Regions from separate parts of the Homo sapiens genome. Here region 2 is linked to region 1. The links are contacts of gene promoters, found by promoter capture Hi-C in blood cells and fetal thymus (Javierre and others, 2016). All regions are on one chromosome and are shown on one strand. Each heading gives the region's core, a stretch centred on a gene start or on the middle of the fragment in contact. The rest is flanking DNA. Distances are from core to core; before and after follow the strand shown.

Evidence for each region. Contacts are between HindIII fragments. The CHiCAGO score rates a contact against its expected background, and 5 or more counts as called.
Region 2: a contact is called between a fragment that was not itself captured here and the fragment with the promoter of CACYBP in region 1, in 1 of 17 cell types (total B cells). The highest score is 7.5, in total B cells.

Annotation. Positions count from the first base shown.
Region 1 is chr1:174,996,049-175,002,341 of GRCh38, forward strand. CACYBP (calcyclin binding protein) reads left to right here and starts at 3,899. Exons shown (of 6, transcript NM_014412.3): 1 at 3,899-4,147. The coding sequence starts at 4,133. LOC105371622 (a long non-coding RNA gene) reads right to left here and starts at 3,598. Exons shown (of 2, transcript NR_188647.1): 1 at 3,547-3,598; 2 at 1,431-1,685. It also overlaps the pseudogene RNU6-307P. RefSeq lists enhancers at 3,020-3,229, 3,172-3,708, 3,260-3,769 and a silencer at 3,800-3,919. The HindIII fragment of the contact is 3,791 bases long and covers 697-4,487 here.
Region 2 is chr1:173,409,218-173,415,510 of GRCh38, forward strand. All of the region lies in intron 2 of LOC100506023 (a long non-coding RNA gene), which reads right to left. It also overlaps a transcript of TNFSF4 not described here. Among named protein-coding and RNA genes, the nearest start is that of PRDX6-AS1, 49 kb to the right of the region's middle. RefSeq lists enhancers at 1,482-2,031, 4,587-4,636, 5,217-5,376, 5,437-5,486. The HindIII fragment of the contact is 6,231 bases long and covers 1-5,393 here.

The DNA.
Region 1 (6,293 bases), core at 2,649-5,148:
TGTCAGCTCCTCTTGGAATTCAGCATGTATTAAAAAATAATCAAAGACTGTAAGATTACAGCTTTTGGCCCAAATTCAGACCACAGACATCTTTCATTTGGCCATGTGGTATTTTTTGTTTGTTTGTTTTCTGAGATGGTCTTGCTCTGTCACCCAGGCTGGAGTGCAGTGGCGTGATCTCAGCTCACTTCAACCTCCACCTCCCAGGCTCAAGTGCCTCCCACCTCAGCCTCCCAAGTAGCTGGGACTACAGGCATACACCACCATGCCTGGCTGATATTTCTATTTTTTATAGAGACAAGGTTTTGCCACATGGCAAGGCTGGTCTCAAACTCCTGAGCCCAAGCAATCCACTCGCCTCAGCCTCCCAAAGTGCTGGGATTGCAGGCATGAGCCACCATGCCTGGCCCCCATCTGGTGTTTTAAACAATGTGAAATTTTACATAAAAAGTAAAACAATCAAAATTACTCAGAAGTGCTCACTTCAACAGCACATACACTAAAACTGTAATCTACAGAGAAGACTGTTGTGTCCCCTGCACAAGAATAACACACAAATTCATTAAGCATTCCATATTTTGCACAGTCCCCAGAAGGTCATTTATCTGCTGACAAGCCCGAAGGGAACAGTATGAGTCATAGCAAAAAAAAAATTAAAAATATCCATTGAATTTGGCAGTTAGGAAATCATGAGTAAGCTTGACAGGTACATTAACTGGGGGAAGCAGTAAAGGCTGCCTGCAATAGGACAACTGAATGAGAAATAATTTCATTTTGAAAGGAAAATTATTCCAAACTTTGGAAACAAGGCAAAAAGGTGAGTGGCATGTCCTTTCAGTGTCAAACCAAGGACTAGGGGATTGTACTTTGTTCATTTCATCGTTCACTATTGATTTAAAAGTCCTATACTGAATCTATACATTAACTTGTAGATTTTTGTCCAGTAAGAATGCAAATCCCTACTTCCTTTCCAGTGGAACAGATAACACCAAAAGTTATAGTTTATTACCCTGTGAGACATTAACAGGTTTATATCTAACCTTGCCACCTTATACTAACATTACATTGTTAAATTGCCTATAAATACCTGGCTACTCAAATACACTCTCAGTAACTAATAAGTCGAATAAAGTATTTGTCACATGTCCATTTATATTTGCATAATATTGTCTGGAAAAGCCTCCCTTAGTGTTACTTCTGAAAGACCTAAATAGAGTGAAGAAACGATCTGTGTGATGACCTAGAGGAAGAGGATTACAGGTAGAGAGAAAGCTGGGTACAGACTTGGAGGCAAGAGCAAACCCAGTGGGTTCAATGAATAAGTAAAGTGCCAGACTGTTTAAATCAGGGAGCGGGGAAGGAAGAGTGGTGAGAGATGGGTTCTGACATGAAGCTCATAAAGGTGAGATAAGATACGTAAAACACTCAAGTTCACATTAAGGAGTTTGTACTTTATTCTAAGCCTAATAGGAAGCTGTTAGAGGTTTTTAAGCAAAGGGATATAATGATCTGAAAAGATATCTCGAGCTGCTCTGTGGAAAACTAACTCTTAAGGCACAATGGGGAAGCAGAGAAATCAGTTAGGAAGATAAATTTCAGACAAAATAATGATGACTTGGACCTGGGTGCGTAGGGTAAGAAATATCTTTTCCTTCTACCCATTTTAGGCTCACTGGCTGGGGATCCTGTAACAAAAGACAAATTAACAAGAGAAAAGCATAAATATTAATGTTAGTTTTACATAACATGGAAACTTCATAAAGAAATGAAGACCCGAATAAATAGTTAACCTTAGTGTTGTTTAGAGTAGGTTTGAAGAAGAATGGAGAATTGTGGGAAAATGTGATGGGGCTAAAAGACTGTGATCTAAGGGTAATAAACTGGGGGAAACTTAGCAAGGCCTGATGTTCATATTCGTCTCTACGTCCCTGTGTTTTCAGAGATAAAGATGTTACTTTTATTCCAGGTATAGACAGGGCAATTCTCACATGAGGGTATTACGTCCTGCTTCAGAGCAGAAAGGTGCAAGAAAGTTAGAGACATTCCTGCATATGTTCTTTCTCAAATTCCTTCAGTTCAAAGTATTCAATATGTCTAGGTGCCATATTTTTGGGTAGCATGTCCCAAACCCCGTCAGGTGGTAGAAGCAGAGGTTGTGAGAACTCGTTAAATTCGCTACATATTTTGAAGATTAAGCCAGTAAGGCTTGTTATATAAGATGTAAGGCCTGAGATAGAAGACTCAGGTATGAGTCCTTAGCCTGAGCAATTAAGAGAACGAGGTAACTGTTCACTGCATTAGGTCCATGGGATATTTGTTTTTATTTAATTATGTACTTAATAATTCCAGGCTATTGGTTGGACACTTAAAAAAATTTATACGATAAAATACACAGCTCTTAGGAGTTCATCCCATGAACTTTGACAATTCTATGTATCGGTGTAATATTTCCATTACCTGGGCAAATTCCCCTTCGCCGGGCCTTAAGCATAATCTACAGAAAAAACTACGTACATAAATATACGTTTACAACTCAATGAGATTTCTAAAGTGAACCCACCTATCTATAATCAGTGTCCAAATCAAGAAACATTACCTGAACCTCAAAAGCCCCCTGGTGGCTCTTTCATGTCATTGTCCTCCCCACTATGCTCATTAACACCATGGGCTAGTTTTTAAATGGAACCACGCAATATGAACTCTTCCATGTCTGGCTTCTTTCCCTCAACTTCATTTTTTTGTGTGAAATTCACGCATGTTGCGTTTCGGTAATTTATTTTTGTACTGTACTTCCGATTCTTTACTACAGATAATGGTCAGCCTCCATTCCGCTAACAGCTTTTTTTCCTCTCCGAGTTGCTGATTCTAATTGCTGCCTTGGACGATCTATAAAGCTGAGTGCGCGCTATGTGACCTCTCAGGGGTCGCTGCCTTGGACGATCTGTAAAGCTGAGTGCGCGCTATGTGACCTCTCAGGGGTTGTTTCCAACCGTGTTGTTGACATCTTGAGCCTGCCAAGGACTAGAATAATCTGAAAACTAGGCTTCTCTGGGGGTCTCACTGAGTGACAGGGTTAGAACCAGAAGAGAACATCGTCTCCAGAAGACATTTCACCATTTTCTTTGATGGTAAACAGGCTCACTTATACCGAATCCAAACCCAGGCGAGAACTACGGACTCTTGAAATGGTCGGTGAAAGGGGCGAAAGCACCAGGAAATCGTGCTTCAACAGTCCATGACTGAAAGGAGGGCCTGAAACTGTGGCCATAGGCGGGCCCTTTTGTTAGGGCCTTGACCTGGGCTTCCGCTACAGGGCCCGGTCACGAGGCCAACGTAGCTCCACCTCCTACGGCGGCCAGTGATGACGCCACCACGTCGGAACTGTTAGACCGCGGTGACGTCTCCACCGCGCCAAACTCACTGAAAATCAAACCGCTACCATTAGGAGCCCTCCACGCTTAACATATCCGTTCTTTCTCGTTTGAAAGTAACCAGGCTGCTCCTCCCCATTTTTCGCCTTCTTCTCGCGGAGGCTGAGAGACTAACCTTACACAACATGGCGGCCTGGTGTGTCTGGTGTCCTAGAGCGGACGAAAGCAGGTGACTCTCTAGTCAACTTCCGACTTGGACTCCGAAGATCGGTACGTTATTTCCGGGGCTGGGTTAACGCAGCGGTTCCGAGCTGCGACTGCGCAGCGTGGCCCAGCGCGGTCAAATTATAATACATAAAAGTTGTCAGGGCGGAGAGCAAGACATTACTCTTCTCGGATTGCCGGTTCGCTCGCGAGACTTGAGCGTTGCTAGGAGATTCGGCAGGCGGGCGGAGCCAGACTCGGCGGGGCGGGGAGGGGTGGGGCTAGGCTCGGCGAGGCGAGGAAGGGTGGGTGGAGCCAGGCTTGGCGGGCTGTGCGTGCTCGCGGTGGGCGGTGGCGGCGGCTGCCTCGCGAAGGTTCGAGATCCGTCGCGTGCGGGAGGCGGGCCGCGATCTTGCGCAGGGTCGGTGTGGGCGCAGGCTGCAGCGCCGCGACTCGTGCGGGTAGGCGTCTGCGCTCGGTTTGAGGGCTCGGCGCGGGGTTTCCTGTTCCTCCTTCTGCGCGGCTGCAGCTCGGGACTTCGGCCTGACCCAGCCCCCATGGCTTCAGAAGAGGTAAGTGGTCCGGCCCCATATTCCTTATGCCCCCCGGCTGGAGCTGCAGCGCCAGCCTCCCGCCCTACCGCCGTTTCCGTGGGCTGAGCCGCCCTGCGGCCACCCGGTCCCGCGCCAGTCAGTGCGCCGCCTTCCCGGGGGACACCTCACTCGCCCCTTGCTGCGCCGTCGGCTCCCCAGCGCTTCCACTCGACCTCGCACCCCACTCGCCTGCTGGGCTCGAGCGGGGGTGTGCGGCGATTATCCGTGCAGGCGGTGCGGGGAGTGGGTCTGGGAGAGCGGCCCTTTGCGCGTGTTCCTCAGGCCCTTTCTGCCCTGGTTTCCCAGCCAGTGGACAGGAAGCTTCATTCAAGCAAAGCTGGGTGCAAACATGAGTGTCGTTCTTGGTAGAGGGCGGTTGGAAGGTGAGTTCTCAGTGCTAGCACTTGAATTCTCCTAGTCAGGTTTTCTCTACACACGAGGAGCTGTGTTACTCTGGGCAAGTTGTTTAGCTTCTCTGTGTCGCAGTAGCATCCATTTCATAGGGTTGTTAAAAAATATGATTTCTAGGTGTTTAAGTCAGTGATTGGCAAACAGCAATCTGCTGTATGTGATTTTTAAAATAAATAACTTGGAAAGTTAGTTGTAATTAATAGTAAGAAAGCGAATGGCCTGTGTTAAAGCTCTGTAAACTCTGAACGTTGGAGAATTAAATTTTGTGGAGACTTAGTTTGCTCAGTTAGAAAATGGGAATGATAGTACTTGTATTGCTCATTTCCTGGCGTAAGTGGGAGGTGAAGACGGGACAGTTATTCACAGTTAAGTGTTGGGTGTGTATTAACTAGATTTGCTTTATGAAAACAAGTACTGGGGAGTCCCAAGCTTTTGTTTTGTTTTGTTTTTGTTTTTTAAACTCAAAATCTTTTCTTTAAATGAAGAAAAACTATGAGGTTTGTGTGTTCCAGTATTAATCTGGGTATCTTGTGACAAGTCTTTTAAGGTAGGTCTTGGGTACTATGTGCCCCTAGGAGATAACTTCACAGTCTTGCAGGTGGATAGCTCAGTGTTAGTCCTCTTGAAAGTAGAGATCGTTCTCAGTTTAGGCACTTAGAAATATACATTTGAGGGCACTTGATTTTTGTTTTGTTTGAGATAAAATTCAAGTTTTTAACCATTTTAAAGTGTACAATTCAGGTATTTGTTTTTTGTTTAAATATATTCACAGTGTAGTGCAGCCATCACCACTGTCTAGTTTCAGGACATTTTCATCACTCCAGAAAGAAACCATGTAGTGTGTTTTAAACAATTGCTTCCCATTCCTCCCTCAGCCCCTGACAACTACTCATCTTGTACTTTCTGTGAATTTGCCTATTGTAGGCATTTCATATAAATGGAGTCACGCTGTATGTGGCCTTTTGTTTTTTGGCTCCTTCAACTTAGCACTAACATTTTCAAGTTCATCCATGGTGTAGCGTGTATCAGTACACATGCTCTTTATGGCTAAATAATATTCTATTATATGCATGTGGCACATTGTGTTTATCCTTTCATCCGTTTATGGACATTTATTTCCACTTCTTTGTTTGAGACGGAGTCTCGCTCTGTCGCCCAGGCTGGAGTGCAATGGCGCAATCTCGGCTCACTGCAATCTCCGTCTCCCGGGTTCAAAGGATTCTCCTGCCTTAGCCTCCTGAGAAGCTGGGATTACAGGCGCGCGCCACCATGCCCGGCTAATTTTTGTATTTTTAGTAGCGACGGGGTTTCACCACGTTGGCCAGGCTGGTCTCGAACTCCTGATCTCAAGTGATCCGCCCGCCCGCCTCGGCCTCTGAAAGTGCTGGGATTACAGGTGTGAGCCATGGCGCCTGGCCTTATTTCCACTTCGTGACTAGCATAAATAATGCTGCTGCGAGTACTGTATCCAAGTTTTTTGTGTGGATGTGTTTTCAGTTCTCTGGGGTATATACCTAGGAGTGGAATTACTGGTTCATATGGTAACTTTCTGAGAAACTGTTAGACTGTTTCCAGAGTGGTTGCATCATATTCCTGTAAGAAATGTTTGAAGCTTCTGAAAGTTTCTCCACATCATTATCAACATTTGTTATTTTCTGGGGTGTTTTATTTTTCTTTTTCGGTTTATGATACCATCCTACTGGGTGTGAAGTGG
Region 2 (6,293 bases), core at 1,028-3,527, 1.6 Mb before region 1:
TCAAGGAAAGACTGAGGAACTCCCCTACTCTGAGAGGGTCAAAGAGGCACAACAACCAAATGCAGTGCTTGATCCTGAACTTCTGCGATAATCACATTTATTGGGACAGCTGGGGAAACTGGAATGGTGTCTGCAGATTCAATGTTAGTAATGTATTAATGTTATTAATACTTTTATAACTTAGATAGTTGTATTATTTTTATATAGAAGAATGTCCTTGGGTCCAGGAATGATACATTCAAATATTAAAGTGATACGGCATCATGCAATAATTTCCTCTCCAACAGTTCAGAAAAAAAAGTCATTATACTATTCTTGCCAGTTTTCTTTAGGATTGAAATTATTTCAAAATAAGAAGAAAAAATTAAATTGAAAGTCATCAAACTTTTTAAGGTAAAGCCCAAGACTACAGAATTTATAACTGAACTATTGTGTATTCCCTGAAGGACATTTGCTTTTAGTGATTTTTTCTTAAAAATCAAGTATTCTTTTCTGGCATAAAAATATGACTCCCACATGCAAATCTAATCTACAGTGTGAGAAGTGCAGGCAGTGGTTACGCTGGCAGGAGGATGAAGGGGAAGTGGTGGCTGGCAGTAAGCCCTGAGGAGCTCCCGCAGCTCTCCATGCTTCCTGATCTAGGCTCTGAGTGCACGGGTGTAAGTCCTTTATGTACATGTACACCCTCCTGCTGCATTCAAGGTTTGTACTCTTTTCTGTATACATATTATACTTCAATAAAACATAAACTTAAATTTTTTAAAAAACCAGGTGCAGTGGCTCACACCTACAATCCCAGCAATTTGGAAGGCCAGGGTGGATGGATCACTTGAGCCCAGGAGTTTGAGACCAGCCTGGGCAACATAGTGAGACCTCATCTCTACAAAAAATCAAAAAATGAGGCGGGAGGATCACCTGAGCCTTGGAGGTTGAGGCTACAGTGAGCCGTGATTGCACCACTGCACTCCAGCCTGGGTGACAGAGTGTGACACTGCCTCAATTTAAAAATAAAAAATAAAAAAAGACACAGGCCTTGATCTTAAGAAGTCCACAATCCAGCATAAACAGAAGATGATGACAGCTGTCACAGTTGCATGTCTGACACCCACAAACCAACAGTGAATCACCAGACTAACCTACAAAGAAGCTCTAAATTTGCGGTTCAACAAGAATTCAAGGAATAAGGTTACTGGGGCCCAGGAAAGTAAATAGATACATATATACATTCACTCACTCACTGGTTCTCCGTATACTCACTCATCAACTCCCCATTTCTTCTTCTCAAATAAAAGTTGTAAATGGGTGTCAAGATTCTATTTTGGTACCACCTTATTACTACCTTCCTCTCACAATGGGAGGGAACATTCAAAAGACATTTAAAGGGACTTGGTCATAGGAAGCCCCCAGTGGTACCTTAATAGTTGTGAGCATGTCTAAGTGAGCCCACGTGGTGGAGATGTGATGTCAGAGATGGGAAATGAGGGAGTCAGAAGTGGTCTCACCATGTCACTGGCCTCCAGGTTATCATCCAATGTCCATCATTTCCTACCTGCTGCTAGTGAGAAGACCTTGGTGCTCCTTGGACTGAACTTTGGCCTAGGACTTGCCTGAAGCTCTGTGTACAGCTTTAAACCCCAACTTTCCAGCACTGACCACCATGACAGGACGGAACCCAGTGTCCTGGGGTAAAACCCAAGGGGTAGCAGCTGCACTGGGGAGACATGTACCCAGTCTGGACTAGTCCTTAATGTGTGGTTTTCACCTTCATGAAGGCCTCTCATGCTTCTTTCTTTGACAGGAAGGACTTGGGGGAAGTCCCTCTGATTTCCCCCTGCTGACACTGGTCCGCTTTGGCCGCTTGACGTGTGTGGGCTTCCTGAAGTCTCTGTTGCTGCGGACCAGGGCATATCACTTTGCCCATGGTCAAAGGAAGAAAGGAAAATTTCCACCCACCTGAGATAGGCTGCTTCTATCTTCAGCCTGAGGCAGAGCAGTCATCACTCATCACCAGCACCCCTCAGGTCTTTCTTTGCTGGACTAGTGTCAGGGGCAGGGGCAGGGGCGGGGACAGTTCAATCCAGGAGACCTGGGTTCCAGCTGTAGTTCTGGTTTAGCTGTGCTTCTTCCCTAGCTCTGTGATGACAAGCAAATTATTTTTCATGTCTTCACCTTGGCTTCCTAATCTGGACTATAAGAAGGTATTTTAAAATAATCTCTAAAATCCTCTAGAATATAAATTCCATGAGGATGTCATCTTGCAGCAGAAGAGCTCAATAAAATATTTGATCAAGAAATAGTTAGGCTGAGTGCAGTGGCTCACTCCTGTATTCTCAGAACTTTGGGAGGCTGAGGTGGGCAGATCACTTGAGGCCAGGAGTCTGAGACCAGCCTGGCCAACATGGCAAAACTCCATCTCTACTAAAAATACAAAAAAATTAGCTGGACATGGTGACACACACCTGTAATCCCAGCTACTCAGGAGGCTGAAGCATGAGAATCACTTGAACCCAGGAGGCAGAGGTTGCAGTGAGCCAAGATCACACCACTGCACTCCAGCCTGGCCAAAGAGTGAGACTCTCTCAAAAAATAAAAATAAAAAAATTTTAAAAAGGAAATAGTTGGCCGGGTGCAGTGGCTCATGCCTGTAATCCCAGCACTTTGGGAGGACGAGGCGGGCAGACCACGAGGTCAGGAGTTCGAGACTAGCCTGGCCAATACGGTGAAACCCCGTCTCTACTAAAGATACAAAGAATTAGCTGGGTATGGTGGTGGGCGCTTGTAATCCCAGCTACTCAGGAGGCTAAGGCAGAATTGCTTGAACCTGGGAGGCGGAGGTTGCAGTGAGCTGAGATTGCGCCATTGCACTCCAGCCTGGCAACAGAGCAAGATTCCATCTCAAGAAAAAAAAAAAAAAAAAGGAAATAGTTAAAGGAATCTCTTCTGAGGTCAACTGCCCCATGTCTCATCCACTTGGCCTGCCTCTGATTTCAGCCACAACTATAGTAAATAGACAGTGCCTGCAAAGCTCAGACTCACCCTGTGACAGTGCCCCATCTCAAGGCCAGCCCTACAAGTCTATCTGCTTTCTGTCTTCGTTTCTGGCTCAGCCTCACTGCCTCACAATCTCAAATGCAACAAAAACATTTTACTTCTTCGTCCTTCAAAGTCATTAACTTGCGCATGATCTCAGAGTGTGCAAAGATTTTCTAAACAGAACAAATTAAAAGCATTAAAAGATTTTCTAAATAGAACAAATTAAAAGCATTAACCATAGGAAAGACTAGCGATTTGAACTAATATTCCTAAAAAGACATCGTTAGGAGAGTCAAAACGCAACTATGAGCTAAGAAAATATATTTGCAATATATGTATTTAGCAAAGGACTCATATCCAAAATAAAGAACTGCTGCAAGTCAGTAACAGAAAGATCAACAGCCAGCCACCAAAGATTACATATTATTCCATTCATATAGAATTTAAAAATGGGTAAAATTTCCATTAATGGTAACAGAAGTCGGAATAGTGATTATCTTTGAGTGGAGTATTACAGAGAAGGACTACAAGGGGAGGTGCTGGGCTGATGGAAATGATCAGTATCTCAATCTCAGTAATGATTCCACAGATGTATACAACGGATTTTATGTAAAATTCATCAAGTTGTATACTTTGTACACTTTGCAACAGATAAGTTTGAGTTCAATAAAAAAGGGGGTGGGAATCGAGGCTGTTTAGGTCACATACTCACTCCTGCATCCAAGGGAATAGTGTGTTGATTGGCTTGGGACGGGGTCCTATGGCCCATCCTGAGGGCTGAGGATGGAGCCCACCCAGACCAAAAATGGACAGAGGAGGGAATCTCCAAGGGGGATTGAAAAGTATTTGCAGAAGATGAGGAAAAAGATGTTCTAAGGGAGACAACTAATTTCTAATGGTCAGGACAGAGGTGGGCCTTACCTTTAGCAAGTGGAGCTGGAAAATATAGGAGAGAGAGAAAGACAGAGACACAGAGACAGAGAGACAGGGGCAGAGAGATGCAGAGTAACCAGCCGTCGGCTTTCCAATTCTTTGTTCTCACTCCTGTGAGTGAAGCTGCACTTCCTATGTGGGGGTTCTGAAAGGTTTCCCTGTATCTGTGGGGGAACTTGTTATTCTTTTTGACCATCTGGCATTTTGAGCCTGCTTTTAATTGTTTGGGGAAGTTCCCCACCTTATGAATCTTGACAGGAGGCAGAGTTGCCTCCCACTCTCAGTGCTGAAAATGCCAGTGTTCATGATCTAAGCTCAGCCAAGGAGACAGCAGCGCTCCAGAATCACAGAGACCACAGGGCACATCGGTGTGGAGGACTTGGTCATAGAAGAGTCTAGTCCAGCAGTGTCACAGCAGGCCAGTGTTCACAGGGTCAGAGGAGCGAGCAGCAGCAGCCGGCGCCCAGCAGCATAGCCCTGCAGTCCTCACGCCCCATTCTAAGGTGTGACGTTTGGCCCTTTTGCCAGCTGGCAGGCCCCACATCTGATCCTCCATCCTTCCTGCCAATCCTGTACCCCAGTCTATATCCTTTCAATAGTTCCTTTTTGGCCTAAACCAGCCAATCCATGTACACTGCTTGAAACCAGGAATCCTAACTGATAATAACATGCTTTCAGAAAATTCCCCCTTTTAGTTTATACAGAGAAGCAAAGCCTGAATCCAAAAGAATGCTTCTACTGTGTGAATTTTCCACACCATCATATGGTCACAAGGAAGGTGTCTGCTGGCAAAAGACCCTTAACACCCTACAAATCACATGACAGGAGGAAAGGGGGACAAGCCAACGTGTGAATTGCAGTTAGGTCCTCAACTCACCTTATGTTCAGTTCTCATCGTAAACCCACAGGATAGGTATTGTACTAGTGTGCTCAGGCTGCCATCACAAAGTACCACAGACTGGAGGGCTTAAACCACAGACATTTTTATTTTCTCACAGTTCTGGAAGTAAGAAGTCTAAGGTCAAGATGCCAGAAAATTCTGTTTCTGGTAAAACCTCCCTTCCTAGCTTGCAGACGGCCACCTTCTCACTGTGTCTTTGCATGGCCTTTCCTCTGTGTGTGCACAGAGGAAAAGATCTCTGGTATCTCTTCCTCTTCTTACAAGGACACCAGATTAGGGCCCCACCTTCTATGACCTCATTTAACCGTTACCTTCTTGGAGGCCCTGTTTCCAAATACAGTCATACTGCAGGTTAAGTCAATAAATGAATTATTGGGGGACGCAATTCAATCTGTAACAAGTATTGTCTCAATATTGCAAACAAGAAACATGAGGTTAAAGTTCTTGTCCAAGATCTAGATAAAGCCTTGGCACTTTTCAGTCTGCTTATGGTTTTCAGTCTTTCTTATCAAATCTTGGAAATTCAAGCTTCAAAGTATGAAGTAGAAGAAAAGTATGGTGTATCATAGAGCAGTGAGAAATGAATGAACCTGAGATGAAGCCAGTGTGACTGTCTGCCAGTCAGCCCTGGAGCGAGGGGATGGAATAACCCAGATATATCCACTGGCTCCTCTCCAAGCTTCAGCCATGCCATGGCTGGCACATCACTGCCTCGTAGCAGCTTGGGTCCTGTGTTTGGGTCCTGACTCTCATATGACTTTGTGAGTGCTGGCAAAGACTCCCTCCTTGACCAAACTTTAGTCGGGTTCCCTGAAGCCTTCTTCTCAACTAGGCCTTGCCCTTGACCTGATGAGCCAAGTTTTAGCAATGAATCTTGTTAAGTCCATTTACTGAGATTCTCTCACCCTCAACATCCAATCAAGCTCCTCTTCCTCCACCTAATCAAGTTCCTGTTAGTAATTTTCCATCCACTCCCCCAGCGTGCTGATTGGCTGTAAATCCCCCCTTATCCCTGATGTATTTGGGTTTCAATCCTCTCACCTATTGCAATAATCTTGACCCTTACTGCAATAGCCTTGAATAAAGTGTTCGTTGCTGTTTTTCACAGATATCAGGATAATTTTTCTTTAACAGTTTATTAGGGGCAAGACCACGTCTCACATTTCTCCTTACATATCTCCCCAACACATAGTTGTGCCTCAGCTGGTGCACTGTCAAGAGGCAAGTGAGTGGGTGGGAGGATGGGTGACACCTGAAAGTCCCATGGCCTAGCTACAGAGAAAAGTCAAAGAGCACCTTGAAGCCTATGAAGAATGGACAGTGGGATGAGCCTTAGGAAAAGGAAGATAGAAGAGAATAAAGGGAAGAAAACAGAGGGTTCCTAGCAGCATGTCAGACTCAATCGGAACCACCCTTACACTATCAA